3 separate regions of the Homo sapiens genome follow, and all the other regions are linked to region 2. The links are contacts of gene promoters, found by promoter capture Hi-C in blood cells and fetal thymus (Javierre and others, 2016). All regions are on one chromosome and are shown on one strand. The core of a region is centred on a gene start or on the middle of the fragment in contact, and the rest is flanking DNA. Distances in the headings are between cores, read along the strand shown. Region 1 overlaps SHISAL2A (shisa like 2A). Region 2 holds the start of ZFYVE9 (zinc finger FYVE-type containing 9). Region 3 has its middle 18 kb from the start of COA7.

Region 1 (4,583 bases), core at 1,700-4,199, 520 kb before region 2:
CCTTTTGCCCTCGGGATAAAGACCAAGCCCCTTAATATGGCAAAGGCTTCAGGACTTGGCTCGTCTACCCTTCCAGCTTCATCTTTCACCATTCCCACCTTGTGTCTACCCAAACTGAACTACTTATTGTTACCTGAAAGAACCATATGGTCTCTCTTAGCCATAGGTCTTCATGTATGCTGTTCCTTCTGCCTTAAATGCTGTTCCTCATCTTGTACCAGAAACCTCCTTTCACCTGTCAGTGGGTCCTTTAAACTTAATCCAGTTATTGCTTACTCCAGGAGGCCTTCCCAAAGTCTTTGGCTAGATTAGGGATCTTTTGTAAATGCCTGTAGCAATGAGCTTCTTGAAGATAGGGATCGGGACCTCATTTAGCCAAGATTCTGGCAGAAAATCATTGTCAATCAATGTTGAATGGACAAACAAATGTGAACGTCTGAGAAAAAAACACCTAGCAGGATAGCTGTAAAGGGGAGTGGAATGTTCTAACGTTTCCAAGTTCCAAGATTCAACATTCTCTAATTCTGGGCTGAAGATTCACTCCCCTCCATCCGAAGCCCACTCTCCAGCTAGCTCCTCCGCCCTGTGCCCTCTGAGTGTTTGTTCTCAGGCAGGCACACACACATGTTCTGAACATAACCGGGAAAGCAATTTACAAGAAATAATTGCCGGTCGATGTGTGCTTGGGAACAGCGGTGAGCTCAGACTATTTCTGTCTGCGTATCAGCCCACCCAGCATCCTCCCACTGCGGCTGCCCTGGGGGAGGGGCTCCTATCACACAGGGTGGGCAGTTTGTTTCTAATGCAGGACCCAGACTAGCCAACCCCAGTGACAGCCGGCTCTGAGCCTTGATTGAATTCAAAGGAGAGGAGCTGTTGGGGGGCAGGGAGGGGCTTTATGAGGCCTAGGATGTGTAGGTCAGCAAAAGCAGCATGTACATTCCCTTTCTCCAACTGTTGGGGAAATTCTACCAGGTCTTCAGGGCCTTGCTCAGTGTGCGGTCTCCCCCACATCTCTCTGGCTCGGAGTCCTCAAAGCTTGTTTTTGTTCTTGCAGAGGCTGTTGTGCTCAAAGGGTGGTCTCAGACCAGCATCATCAGCATCACCTGGAATTTGTTAGAAATGCAAATTCTGGGGACTTACTCCTGACCTACTGAGTCAGACACTGGGGTAGGAGGCCAGCATTCTGTGTTTTAACAAGCCCTCCACACAGCTGATTCTGATGCAGCCTCGAGTTTGAGAACCACTGCCTTAGGCCGCGGATGACCACTTTAGCGTTTGGAATGCACACAGCATCTCCCCCTTCTGACTGCTAGCAGCCTAAAGGCAAGGGCATTATCAGATTCTTTCCTGAAACCTCCCAGTCTCCCTTGAAAGTGTTCAGAGAAAAGTTGGATTTTTCTGATGAGGATACCAAGGACAGAGAAGGAATTCGTCCTGTGAAGGGTCGCACAGAGCGTCAGGGACTAAACATCCCAATATCACCCAGCCCCACCACATATATACAAGTACCCTAAGCTCTTTCTATAACAAATAACTTGCAGGTCCTGGGCCACACTGGCTCGCTCTCACTATTGTGAACAAGCTGTATTCTGACCATAATGTTTTCTGTTCCTGTCTCACCTGGAAACTTTGAGTCATCTTTGATGATTCAGCTCAGACATCATTTCTTCCTCCCTAAAGCCCCATGAAGGGCCACCACTGGGCCTCCTGGCCATTTGTGTGCCTGCCTTGTCCTCCATGTGAGCCCCTTGAGGGTGAGAACTGTCTGATTCCTCTTGTTTGTGGCAACCTGCACAGGTCCTAGAATAGAATGGATACCACTAAGTGTGCAGTAAATGGACAAGGGTGCTGGGTTTTAAGTGCTGAAAATAGGCTGGGTGCAGTGGCTCACACCTGTAATCCCAACACGTTCAAGGCTAGCCTAGGCAACATAGCAACCACCCGTCTCGATAAAAAAAAAATTTAAAAATTAGCTGGACACAGTGGCACGCACCTGTAGTCACAGTTGCTTGGGAGGCTGAGGCAGAAGGATTGCTTGTGTCAGGAGTTTGAGGTTGCAGTGAGCTATGATCTCCACTGCACTCCAGCCTGGTGACAGAATGAGACTGTCTCAAAAAAAAAATGCTGAAATAAAAGAGCACACACACACACACACACACCACCACCACCACCACCACCAACAACAACAAATGAAGCAAGACCAGAACCAAAATCTCTTGACTTCCAGCCTAGAACACTTCTGTGGGTGACTCACCCTGTCTTGCCACCCCATCATGTACCCTTTGGCTGGCCTCAGGCACAGGTATCTAAGAGTGACTCTTTCACTGTTGCCAAATCCAGCAGCAGGTCATGTCACTGTCTGAAATGTCAAGAGCTGCTTTTGGTGGCTGCTGAGCTGCGTCTCCACAGTCCTTGTCTTGCATTCCGAAGGCGAAGCCTAAAAGCCATCGCCAAAGTTAGGAGAGCAGCCAGGAGGGAGGGCTGACAGTCAGCATCTTGCCCTAAGATTCCTTTGCGATCAGATTAATAATAAGACATGTTAAAAATAATAATAATAGCTAACACATAGTGCTTTCCATTTGCCAACACTTTTCTATGTACTTGCATGGACTTAGTAATTTAGTCCTTCCCCAAGCCCTATTAGAAGATACTACTAAGATTCCAGCTTATATAGATGAGAGGACTGAGGCACAGAGGTTACCTAGCAAGTAAGTGACAGGGGCAGGATTTTAACCAGGCATTTGGCTCCAGAGTTGTTCAGTATTACATAGTTTACTGTTATTGTCCATTTGTAATTTAAAAAGTCTTTTAGCAGGAATACTATGTTATCATCCATTGGTCATTTAAAAAGTCTTTTAACAGGCCAGGTGTGGTGGCTCACATCTGTAATCCCAGCACTTTGGGAGGCCAAGGCAGGCGGATCACTTGAGGTCAGGAGTTCAAGACCAGCCTGGCCAACATGGTGAAACCCCGTCTCCACTAAAAATACAAAAATTAGCCAGGCATGGTGGCACACACCTGTAGTCCCAATTACTTGGGAGGCTGAGGTGGGAGGATCACTTGAACCCGGAAGGCGGAGGTTGCACTGAGCTGAGATCATGCCATTGCACTCTAGCCTAAGTGACAGAGCAAAACTCCGTCTCAAAAAAAAAAAAAGTCTTCTAGTAATTTAATGTTTACGAAGTGAGTTCAAATCCATCACCTCATTGAACACTTGCAATAACCCAGCAAGGGGACTGAGGCTCAGGAAGACAAGGGACTTTATCAAGGCCACACAGTGGCAGAGTCCACCCTCTGGAGCCTGTATTCAGTCTGATAACCATTCATTCATTCATTCATTCTTCTTCTTTTTTTGTGATGAGGTCTTGCCCAGGCTGGAGTGCAGTGGTGTGATCATAGCTCACTGCAGCCTCGACCTCCAGGGCTCAACTGATTCTCCTGCTTCAGCCTCCCAAGTAGCTGCAACTACAGGTATAAGCCACCACATGTGGCTAATTTTTAAATTTTTTGTAGAGTCTGGGTCTCACTGTGTTGCCCAAGCTGGTCTTGAATAAGTGGGCTCAAGTGATCCATCCACCTTGTCCTCCCAAAGCTCTAGGACTACAGGCGTGAACTGCCGCGCCCTGCCCCTATTCATTCTCTCACTTAGCACTCACTCCTTCATCTACCTAAGAAATAGAATGACGCCTGAGCCCTGTGCACAACATACTCCCTCTCTATCCGTCCCTCTGCAAGGGGCTTACTCCAGGATGGCGCACTCCAGGGTGAGGCAGAGCTGCTGAAGAGGCAGAGATCATCCCCCTCTGAGGGCTAATCATCTTCTCAGGGGCTCCTAAATACACCTACTGTGGGGCAGGAAAACCATGTCAGAGTTCTCTGACTTCCCAGTTGGGTGAGGGGCTCCTCTGTGCCTTCACAGGCCCCAGGCTTCCACCCGATTGCATGGAGTTGTTACTGACCATTTTTCCTAGGAGTCATGTCAAAGTTCTTTGGCCCACAATAGGCCAAGCAGAACAGTATGGCAGGGTCCACAGCAGGGCTGGGTATCTTTGCTGGGAGAAGCCCTCATTTATCATGCTAGGCTCTAAAGTCCTTTCCCACTCCCACCTTTCACTGAAGAGACTCCAGAAGGGGATGGTATGGAGACATTTATTGAATGTTTATGGGACTGGTCCACATAGGTCAGGGTTGGGTACAGAGGCTTCCTCAGGGCTGCCTGGAATGTCACTGGTGGTCACTGTGGCCATGAAGCAATGATGGAGGAGGCGTTTGGAGTTCACAGCCTGCCCCTCATTGCTCTCCAGCTGCGGGTTCAAGCAGGAGTAACTCTGCTGGAGAGGGCTCACTTTTGGCACTTCTGCCGCCATGCCTGTGTTCACACCTTGGCAGTCAGGAGAAACCTCCTCAGGGCCTGGAAAACAGCAAACTGAGGGTGTGTGGCTCTCTTCTTCCCCAACAGGATCACACTCCCCAGCTGACTTCTCTGGTGCTTACCTTGGGCAGTGCACTGTGGTCAGAGCCTTAGAAGCATCATTTGTTTAACATGTATTTATTAACAATACACCACATTATGCACTGAG
Region 2 (4,929 bases), core at 1,480-3,979:
ATTAAGTGCCAAAGTAAATGACAAGGTATTCTTTTAGCACACCACAGCTATCACAGGAGGCTCTCAATAAATGGTTGCTGATTGGATCAGCTGTCCCTCAAAATATCACTTTTCTTTCTAAGATTATTTACTACGAAAAATGACATCCTTTGAGCTGGAGCTGCAAGGAAGTAAAAAAAAAAAAAAAAGAAAGAAATGACTATTGCCACTAAAGACTTATAGTTTTGCTAGAAAATAGACACCTTCCTTCGGCTCAGCAAGGTTAGTTAATTTTAAACTTACTGTATCAGTGATTCTCAAACTTTAGTAGGTCTAAGAATCAGGGAGACTGATAAAAATAAAGTTCTTTGGGCCATCGTCATCCCTAGAATTTCAATTCAAGGGACCAAGAATCTGCATATTACATATAATACTTATATATATAACAAGCACTCTCAACTGATTCTAATGTTGGTGGTCTTGAGGGACACACTGAGAACTGTATTCAACTTTTTTTTTTTGAGATGGAGTCTCGCTCTGTTGCCCAGGCTAGAGTCAGTGGCCCAATCTTGGCTCACTGCAACGTCTGCCTCCCAGGTTCAAATGATTCTTGTGCCTCAGCCTCCCGAGTAGCTGGGGCTACAGGTGGGCACCACCATGCCAGCTAATTTTTGTATTTTTAGTAGAGACGGGGTTTCACCATATTGACCAGGCTGGTCTTGAACTTCTGACCTCATGATCCACCCGCCTCGGAGAGGGGCATCTTGCTTACGTTGCCCAAGCAGGACTGGAACTCCTAGGATCAAGGGGTCCTCCCCATTCAGCCTCCCTAGTAGGCCTAGCCATCACACTTTGCCTGAATTAGACTTTTAAAAATCGAGATTAACCTACCCAAATAACTGGTAATGAAGCCAATTTTTAAAAGAAATACTTAAAATCTGACAAAAACAATGCAAGGCTACAGCATCTAACACAGTAGGTCTTCAAAAACGTGTACCATGCCAAACTTTCTCCCTAGATGGAGACCCCATGCTGCATAGAAGGTTAAGTCAGGGATCTTTTAGGTAGTTACCCATATTCTTCTGTTTTAATTGATGAATTCAACATGGTTCCAATGTAATTTAGTAAAATATTTTTACAGGTCTTATACAAATGACAATGTAAAATGGAACAGTCAGATAATTTTAAACCTAATATACAGAAATAATAATTTTAAAAATCACTGTCAGTACGAGCCCATTATAAACCTGTACTGTTTACAATCTGTGAGATTATGGGTGATTTCTCCTATTATTAAATATTTATTAAGAGCCAACATGGTACCTTTCTATAATTCCCAAGTTTTCTACAATAAGCATATTTTTTCATGATTATAAAAGTTTTGCAAGTACCTATAAGTCTTATAACTTTCACATACATAACAGGAAAACAAGAATAACCTGTAATCACATTTCTCACAAAACATAAATATCTGACTTACGGTATCAAACTGTAATCAGTAGCATTTTCAACATTAATATCAGAACAAATCATTTTATTTCTAAAATTTAGCATGTATCCCATTTCCTTCAGGTATTTATTAGGGTAGCTGGCACTTAAAGAGGACTTAAAATCCTTTTGCCAACTATTCTCTGGATCTCTTTAAGTGGAACATTTTTGTACCGAACACTGAAGCATAAAAATATTTCTTCTGGCGGGGTGTGGGGGGCAGACCTTTGTAAAAGACGTTTTTATAACTGTGAGTGTTTATCTACAAAACTTAGCATCGCAAAGATGCGATGGGGCTTTCTCCAAGGCAGACCACGCTTAGAGGCAAGATATAATATAAAGAGGCAGGAATGAGCAACCGGCAGGTGATGAAATTTCACCTCAAATAAGACGCAAAAGGTTGTTCTCGAGCAAGCCAGATCCATGAATGACACTCCAGGAGTAGCAGGGGCTCTCTTGGTCCCGCACTCTCTGCACCCCCAATTCTCACCCTGGCCTTCCTCTCCTCCCCCTTTCCCCGCCACAACCGGGATTCTGAGGGACTCGGTATGGGACGCGTGGAAGCCAAAGCTTGTTTGCAAACAGGCGTCATCTGCCTCCCTCCGGGATGTACGTGCAGGGCCCGGGCTAAGAGGCTGCGCTCGGCCCGGGCCCATGCAAACCCGAAAGGCGGCCGTGCTCCTGCCGGCCCCCAGCTCCACACACCCGGCCGCGCCGGAACCGAGGCCGGAGCGAGGGCTTCCCAACGGCGCGGGGCCTAATCGCCCCCCACGGCCTTCAGCCTCCCGGGGGACGCGGGGAGAAAGGGCTGAGGCCCCAGGACCGCAGGGTGGGGGAGGCGACCGCAGTGGCAGGACGCCCCGTCCGCCCGGCCCGCGGTCTGCCGCCAGGGCCCCCACAGGCGGCGGGAGGCCGGCGAGCCCCGGACCACGCCGCGCCACACTCACCTCGAGCAGCGGCCGCCTCCGCTTCAGCATGGCCACGGGGGTCGTCCCTGAGCCGAAAGCCTCCTCCGGAGGGCACCGGCGCGGCCCCAGGCGCCGCCGCGAAACCTCCCACTCCTGTAGGAGCTGCGGTAGCCGCAGCTGCGGCTGCTACTGCTGCTAAGGCCCGGCACCCGCCCAGCCGCATCGGCGCCCGGGCCGCGGCAGCCACGCGGATCCCGGAGGAGCGCCGCCGAGCCGGGCCGGGGGCGCAAGGCTGCGGCGGGACGACCGAGGTGCGGCAGGCGGGGATCCTCAGCGAAGCCTCCAGCGTCGGGTGGCCGCTCCTGCCGCCGGCGCCGCTGGGCCACAGCGCCCCCTGGACCCCACGTCCGGCTACGGCGTCGGGACTGCGGCGGCCGCGCTGGGCACGAGCCGCAGGGAACGCTAAGGAGCGCGGCCTGGGGGCGGCGAGGGCCCCGTGCTCCCTGCGTAGCCCGCGGCCCGCGGCCGGCCCGGGACTCCGCTTCCCGGGAACCGGAAGCCCCTCAGTTCCCACCAACCCCTGGCGTTCCCCGCCCCCGCCAGACCCGAGCACCTTTTCGTTCTCTCCCGAAGATACGTGAACGTTCTTGTCACTCGGACCCGCACCTGAGAGCAGGAATATAAGGGAATCTCCGTTTGACTCTCACGGTTTCGGGGGTGGCAGGGAGACCCCCTTCTAATTCCTTTAATGCGTCTGGATGAAAGAAGAGTGACCCAGAACAAACCTTTTTTTCAAACATACACACTCGTCTCCCAAAACAGACGAAGGAATTGTCTTTGACCTTAACTTGTTTTTTTATCTACTGTGTAGATCATTAAGAAATTTTCTACAGATATCAACCAAACCCTTAACACCTAAACCACCACCCCCACAAAACAAAAATGAAAAAAAAATACATACATATATATATATGCCAAGCCAGAGAAGAGAATAGCCAACGGGTTGTCCTGAAATTCATAAACAACTTAAAGGTAAGCAAAGAATCACCCATCTTTTACTAACATCCTCTCCCTCCCAACCTCTTCTCTCCCACCTTTCCACCCCTCATCCCAGGCAAATCCTAGTAAGGCTCTGAAGGAAGGAAATTATTACACAGTGGGGGCTATGGAATCATTCTGTTTACAGATGCCCCATATTTGATCCCAGTCAGCCTCTAGGGTGCAAACATCAGAACCAAAAACAAACACGACTGTCAGAGGGGAAGTAGGGAAAGAAAATTCTCCAAATCCTCTGATCCCTAAATTTTCCAAATACACTTTTTTAACAGAGTGGTATACTAGAATGTGTAGTGATTTTGGTGTCAGACACATACCAACACTACCAGTTCCAGTTCTGTCATGTATATATAGCTTTATGACCCTGGGGAAGTTATGTAACATTTTTGAACTTCAGTTTTCTCCTGCCTGCCTTGCTGGTTGTTGAAGATTGGAGATAAAGAGACTGGCCCATAGAAGATACTTAATAAATGTTAGTTACAATTTTTATTGGTTCCAGTTCTTTTTCTTAGGCTCAATTTTGTACTCCTCTGTTTTTGTTTCTCATTCTCTCTCTCTCTCTCTCTCTCTCTGTGTGTGTGTATGTGTGTGTGTATGTGTGTGTGTAACTGTATTTCTGTCAAAAGATAGATGCTCCATTCTTCATCCTCCCTAGTCTGGGTGAAATTTCCCTAAATTTCACTAATGGGTTTATGTAACACCCCTCCATGGAAGAATAGAGCCTCATACACTGGATCCTATGACATTCTGTTGCACAGCAGATAGCAGCATGCAACCAGTATTTTTTATGTATAAAAAATGTTATAAGGCAATCTCACCTTACCTTAGGTTATGGCCTAATGATGATAAATAATAGAAACTACAAAAGGTCTCCAGGAATCATTCATTTAATAATTGAGCAGCCACCATGGAGAAGATGTCACCTAGTAGCTCTCTTAATGAAAGCTGTTCCTGCATAATCCTAAGTGTGCCTTTGCCACATACTCCTGAGTCACAAAAAAATCACTATGCCCTTTCTATAACAAGAGAAACTGGGGCTCAAAGGGAAACCATGATTCATCCTCGCAGTGATTCTATGAGTTAGGTCCTATGCTACCATTTTACATGTGAAATATATCCAACCTAAGGAAGAGCTGGAAGTAGACCCTGAGATTCCCTTCAGTCCCCAACCTGATGCCCCAACAGTCCTTTCAACAATATTAACAAAATGCTGTAAGGGTCATTTGTTGCTAAAAAATGTTTAGTCAAGGGAAAAGGGCCCTTCAACTGATTGAGATCATTAGCGCTGTAACCTAATATTAGCACTGTATTTTTCATGCCTAGATCACTGCCACCACAGGAAACCTGCATTTGTTTATGAATAATCATGCAACCCAGGGCATAGCTACTACATGAAGAAGATGATTCATTTGTTCCCAAGACCAGTTTCCTCTTGCTTCACACTTTCTCTCCTTGTTGCTGAAAGCAGCTGCCTTTATCATCACAACCTCCCCGCTGA
Region 3 (4,470 bases), core at 213-2,712, 540 kb before region 2:
GCAACAGAGTGAGACTCCATCTCAAAAAAAAAAAAAAAAAAAAAAAAAAAAGAGGTTAACATGGTAAATTTTATGTTTTACCACAATTTAAAAAAAAAACATATTGACTTTTTAAAAATGCAAGGTTTGAAGTTTTTTTATTATAAAATTAGTATGTTCTCATAAAATGCAATTTGAAACAGAAGAAACCATCACCCCTCACTATTCTTTTATCACCTATGGGCATTCTTTGGCACAATAGCGTTCTCACTATTTAACCATTTTTTTAAAGAATCATATCTTTTTTTTTTTTTTTTTTTTTTTGAGATGGTGTCACCCAGGCTGGAGTGCAGTGACGTGATCTCAGCTCACTGCAACCTCCACCTCCCAGGTTCAAGTGATTCCCCAGCCTCAGCCTCTTGAGTAGCTGGGACTACAGGCGAGCGCCACCACAGCCGGCTATTTTTTGTATTTTTAGTAGAAATGGGGTTTCACCATGTTGATCAGGCTGGTCTCTAACTCCTGACCTCAGCTGATCCACCCACCTTGGCCTCCCAAAGTGCTAGGATTACAGGCATGAGCCACTGTGCCCTGCCAAGAATCATATCTTTTCAACTAACAGGTTTTGTAATTTTTTTTTTTCTTTTTGAGATAGGGTCTCTCTGTGTCACCTAGGCTGGAGTGCAGTGGTGCAATCATAGCTCACTGCAGCCTCAACCTCCTGGGCTCAGGTGATCCTCCTACCTCAGTCTCCCAAGTAGCTAGGGACTACATGTGCGTGACACCATGCCCAGTTAGTTTTCATGTTTTTTGTAGATATGGGGTCTCGCTGTGTTGCCCAGGCTGGTCTCAAACTCCTGGGCTCAAGCGATCCTCCTGCCTCAGCCTCCCAACATGCTAGGATTACAGACATGAGCCACTTGCCCCACTGGGTTTTGTAATTTTGAAGAACTAAGTTTGATTTTTGGGTGGCAGATGTACTGGATTTTTTTTTTGAGATGGAACTTCACTCTTGTTGCCCAGGCTGGAGTGCAATGGCATGATCTCAGCTCACCGCAACCTCCGCCTCCCGGGTGCAAGCAATTCTCCTGCCTCAGCCTCCTGAGTAGCTGGGATTACAGGCATGTGCTACCACACCCGGCTAATTTTGTATTTTTAGTAGAGACAGGGTTTCTCCATGTTGGCCAGGCTGGTCTCGAACTCCCGACCTCAGATGATCCACCTGTCTCGGCCTCCCAAAGTGCTGGGATTACAGGCGTGAGCCACTACACCCAGCCTTTTTTTTTTTTTTTATGGACGAGTTCCTACCTGGGACTTCTGGTACTTGCCTTCCTGAGTCACATACTTAGTGGGGCAGGGAACAATAGAGTGAGCATTAACTGTGTCAAAATGTTATATTTCCCTAAAGTTATTAAAATGCAAAGAATAATAATTTACTGTTCAGAATGGTCCAAGGCCATTTCATACCCAGGCTACTGTGGGAAGCAGTAGGTTGGTAAGAGCCAGCATGGATAAGTTTCTCACTTTAATGCAGCCTTTGAGGCAAGGTTTGAAAATCGCTTTTCAGACTCTGGTCACAGCAAGCAGTATCATTACTGTGTCTTCTAGCCAGCAGGCATTGGATCATCATTAACAACTATTTCCTACGTTTTTCCTCCATGCTAGGCTTGGGCTGGATACAGGACATTCAGAGCTGGCCTGATGGTCTGTCTAATGGGAAAGACGGTTCATAATTGACTCTGGCGGTTTGTGTTCTCACTAAAATCTTTTTTTTTTTTTTTGAGACACAGTCTCACTCTGTTGCCCAGGCTGGAGTGCAGTGGTGCGATCTTGGCTCACTGCAACCTCTGCCTCCCGGGTTTGAGAGATTCTCCTGCCTCAGGCTCCTGAGTAGCTGGGATTACAGGCCACCACGCCCAGCTAATTTTTGTATTTTTTAGTAGAGATGGGTTTCACCATTTCACTATGTTGGCCAGGCTGGTCTTGAACTTCCAACCTCAGATGATCTGCCTGCCTCTCCCTCCCAAAGTGCTGGGATTACAGGCGTGAACCGCTCTGCCCGGCCAATGCTCTCACTAAAATCTGACAGTATGGTGCTCAGTACTGTGAGGAAGGAAAGGAAGAGTCCCAGAGAGGGAAGGGAAAACCTGAGGGTATAGAGATTTGGCTTTTATCTTGTGGGTAATGCAGAGTCACGAAAGGGTTTTGATCAGGTTTGGAAATTAGAAAGATCATCCCCAGTGCAGAAAATGAATCACGGGGGAAAGACTGGAGGCAGGAAGACCAATGAGGAGATGGCTGCAGATGTCAAGGTGAGACATGGTGGGGCCTGAGCTAAGGCCTGTCAAGCAAGGAAGGGAGCACAGGTGAGAGGCCAGACAGCTGAATAAGCAAAATTGAGCCATGCGGGGGTGGGAAGAAGGTGGGGTTGAGCATGAGGTTGAAAAATATAAACCAAAACAGGTTTAGCTTGGGCATCTAGGTGGACAGTGGAGCTATTCATATTGATTTGGAGCCTGTGGTGTGGGGATGGGGACAAGAACTCTGAACTGTTGGGTGATTTTTTAAGTTTTATAAATAAATAGCATTTTTATTTGTTTTATGAAGTTGCTTGAAAAATTGTATGAAGGGCAGCGTGGCAGAGGGAAAATGCCTAGACTTCAGATCCTACAGATGTGGACAATTCTGGATTAGTCAAAGGCAGAATACGCATGTATATTTAGGACACCTAACAAAGAATGAGAAATATATACATTTAAAAATAGTAATGTTATATTCCTTTTTTTTTTTTTTTTTGAGACAGAGTCTCGCTCTGTCACCCAGGCTGGAGTGCAGTGGCTCGATCTTGGCTCACTGCAAGCTGCAAGCTCCGCCTCCCATTCTCCTGCCTCAGCCTCCCGAGTAGCTGGGACTACAGGCTCCCGCTACCATGCCTGGCTAATTTTTTGTATTTTTTTTTAGTGGAGATGGGGTTTCACCGTGTTAGCCAGGATGGTCTCGATCTCCTGACCTCGTGATCTGCCTGCCTCAGCCTCCCAAAGTGCTGGGATTACAGGCGTGAGCCACCGCTCTTGGCCTACATTTCTTTTAAAGCATCAAGTAATCACTTTGTGGGGGGAATGAAGACTTTTTTGGGTTCTTTATGTTCATTTTGCAGTTTAGATCTCTTTTATTGTGAATTCTATATTAGGGTTGGTGGGGGCGGGGTGTACCAGACTATTTTCAGTTCTTAGGTCTAAAGGTCTTAGCCTGGGTTCTGACCTGAGTTTTGCTTTTTATTGGCTGTGTGACCTTAGACAAGTTACTCTACCCTCTTTTCGGATTTTGTCACCTCTCAGGTGGGGATAACAATGTCTTCTAGTAGGGTTGTTAGGAGGAGTAAATAGTAACTCTTATCGTAGAATGATAAATGCTGATTTAAAAAGACTTTTGTGGAATGAAATCTTACAATTAGATAATTGTCTTTTTTCTGAGTGGTATTGTTACCTTGTGAGGGAGTCTAGCTTTTAAAACAGCCTGCCTTTGCTGCCATTCTTTGAATATCCAGGGAGCTGACGGTGAGGCTCTCCAGGGGTACTGATGGCACAAAACAGCTGCAGGGGGCATGCCTGGGGCAGGGGAAAAGTAGGGGGCTGCCCCTACTTTTTCCCTTCTCCACTGCCTGAGCACAGAGTCACTGAGAAGACTTGCACCTGCTGGGGGCCCAGAGTGGAAACTATTCCCAGCTGGTGCCCCTCCCCAGGCTTGAGGAATGGTGATTGTATTACAGTTTATAAATCAGGCCTCCCCACTGTCTAAAGGGGAAAGGCCAAAATTCTTTGCCCAGTGTGTCTCCCCACTCCCATGAGATGATCCCTGCCTCCATATTTAGCCCCATCTTATTCCTAACTCAGGCATCTTTGCATCAGGGAACTGCTTGTGGTCTCTGCACCACCTGCCCCACCCCCAAAATATCCCTATCTCTCTCTCTCTCTCACACACACACACACACACACAGAGAGAAATTAAGTGGTGATGGATGCGTTCATTAATTTGACTATAGTAATCAGTACACAATGTATATCAAATCATCACACTGTATACCTTGAATATATACACTTTTTGTTTATCCATTAAATATTTTAAAAGAAAAAGTAACAACAAAATACCCAGGCTGTTTCTTACAGCCAAGCTTTTGCTGATGTCTGGGTCCACCAAGACCTACGGAATGAAAATCTGGATTTTAAATAAGAAAACCACGGGAAATTCTTATTCATACTAAAATGGGCAGCCCACTCAAGTGGTGTAAAGCCGCAGCTCCTTAGCTTGTCACTACAACCCCTCTGCAGTCTGGTCTCCACACCTTCAGCTCTTTACAATTCCTAATAGTCCTTTAAAACTTAGCCCACATGTCACCTCCTCCAGGAAGTCATCCTGGACCCTCAAGTTCCGTGGTCTTCTGATAGTCCTTGTGCTTCTCTCAGTTCTTTCTTTCCTTTTTTAAAATTTAGT

What was found. The method cuts DNA at HindIII sites, captures the fragments that hold promoters and counts their contacts. A CHiCAGO score of 5 or more calls a contact.
Region 1: a contact is called between a fragment that was not itself captured here and the fragment with the promoter of ZFYVE9 in region 2, in 1 of 17 cell types (M2 macrophages). The highest score is 8.2, in M2 macrophages.
Region 3: a fragment that was not itself captured here is called in contact with the fragment with the promoter of ZFYVE9 in region 2 in 1 of 17 cell types (fetal thymus); the score reaches 5.1 in fetal thymus.

What each region holds. Positions count from the first base shown.
Region 1 is chr1:52,656,621-52,661,203 of GRCh38, reverse strand. SHISAL2A (shisa like 2A) reads right to left here. Exons shown (of 3, transcript NM_001042693.3): 3 at 4,139-4,414. The coding sequence ends at 4,164. Among named protein-coding and RNA genes, the nearest start is that of SHISAL2A, 26 kb to the right of the region's middle. The HindIII fragment of the contact is 3,818 bases long and covers 1,041-4,583 here.
Region 2 is chr1:52,139,889-52,144,817 of GRCh38, reverse strand. ZFYVE9 (zinc finger FYVE-type containing 9) reads right to left here and starts at 2,729. Exons shown (of 19, transcript NM_004799.4): 1 at 2,415-2,729. LOC107984956 (collagen alpha-2(I) chain-like) reads right to left here. Exons shown (of 5, transcript XM_047439476.1): 2 at 3,529-3,625; 3 at 3,337-3,383; 4 at 2,415-3,041. RefSeq lists a silencer at 2,070-2,929. The HindIII fragment of the contact is 13,456 bases long and covers 2,040-4,929 here.
Region 3 is chr1:52,678,456-52,682,925 of GRCh38, reverse strand. No RefSeq gene overlaps it. Among named protein-coding and RNA genes, the nearest start is that of COA7, 18 kb to the left of the region's middle. The HindIII fragment of the contact is 5,380 bases long and covers 1-4,152 here.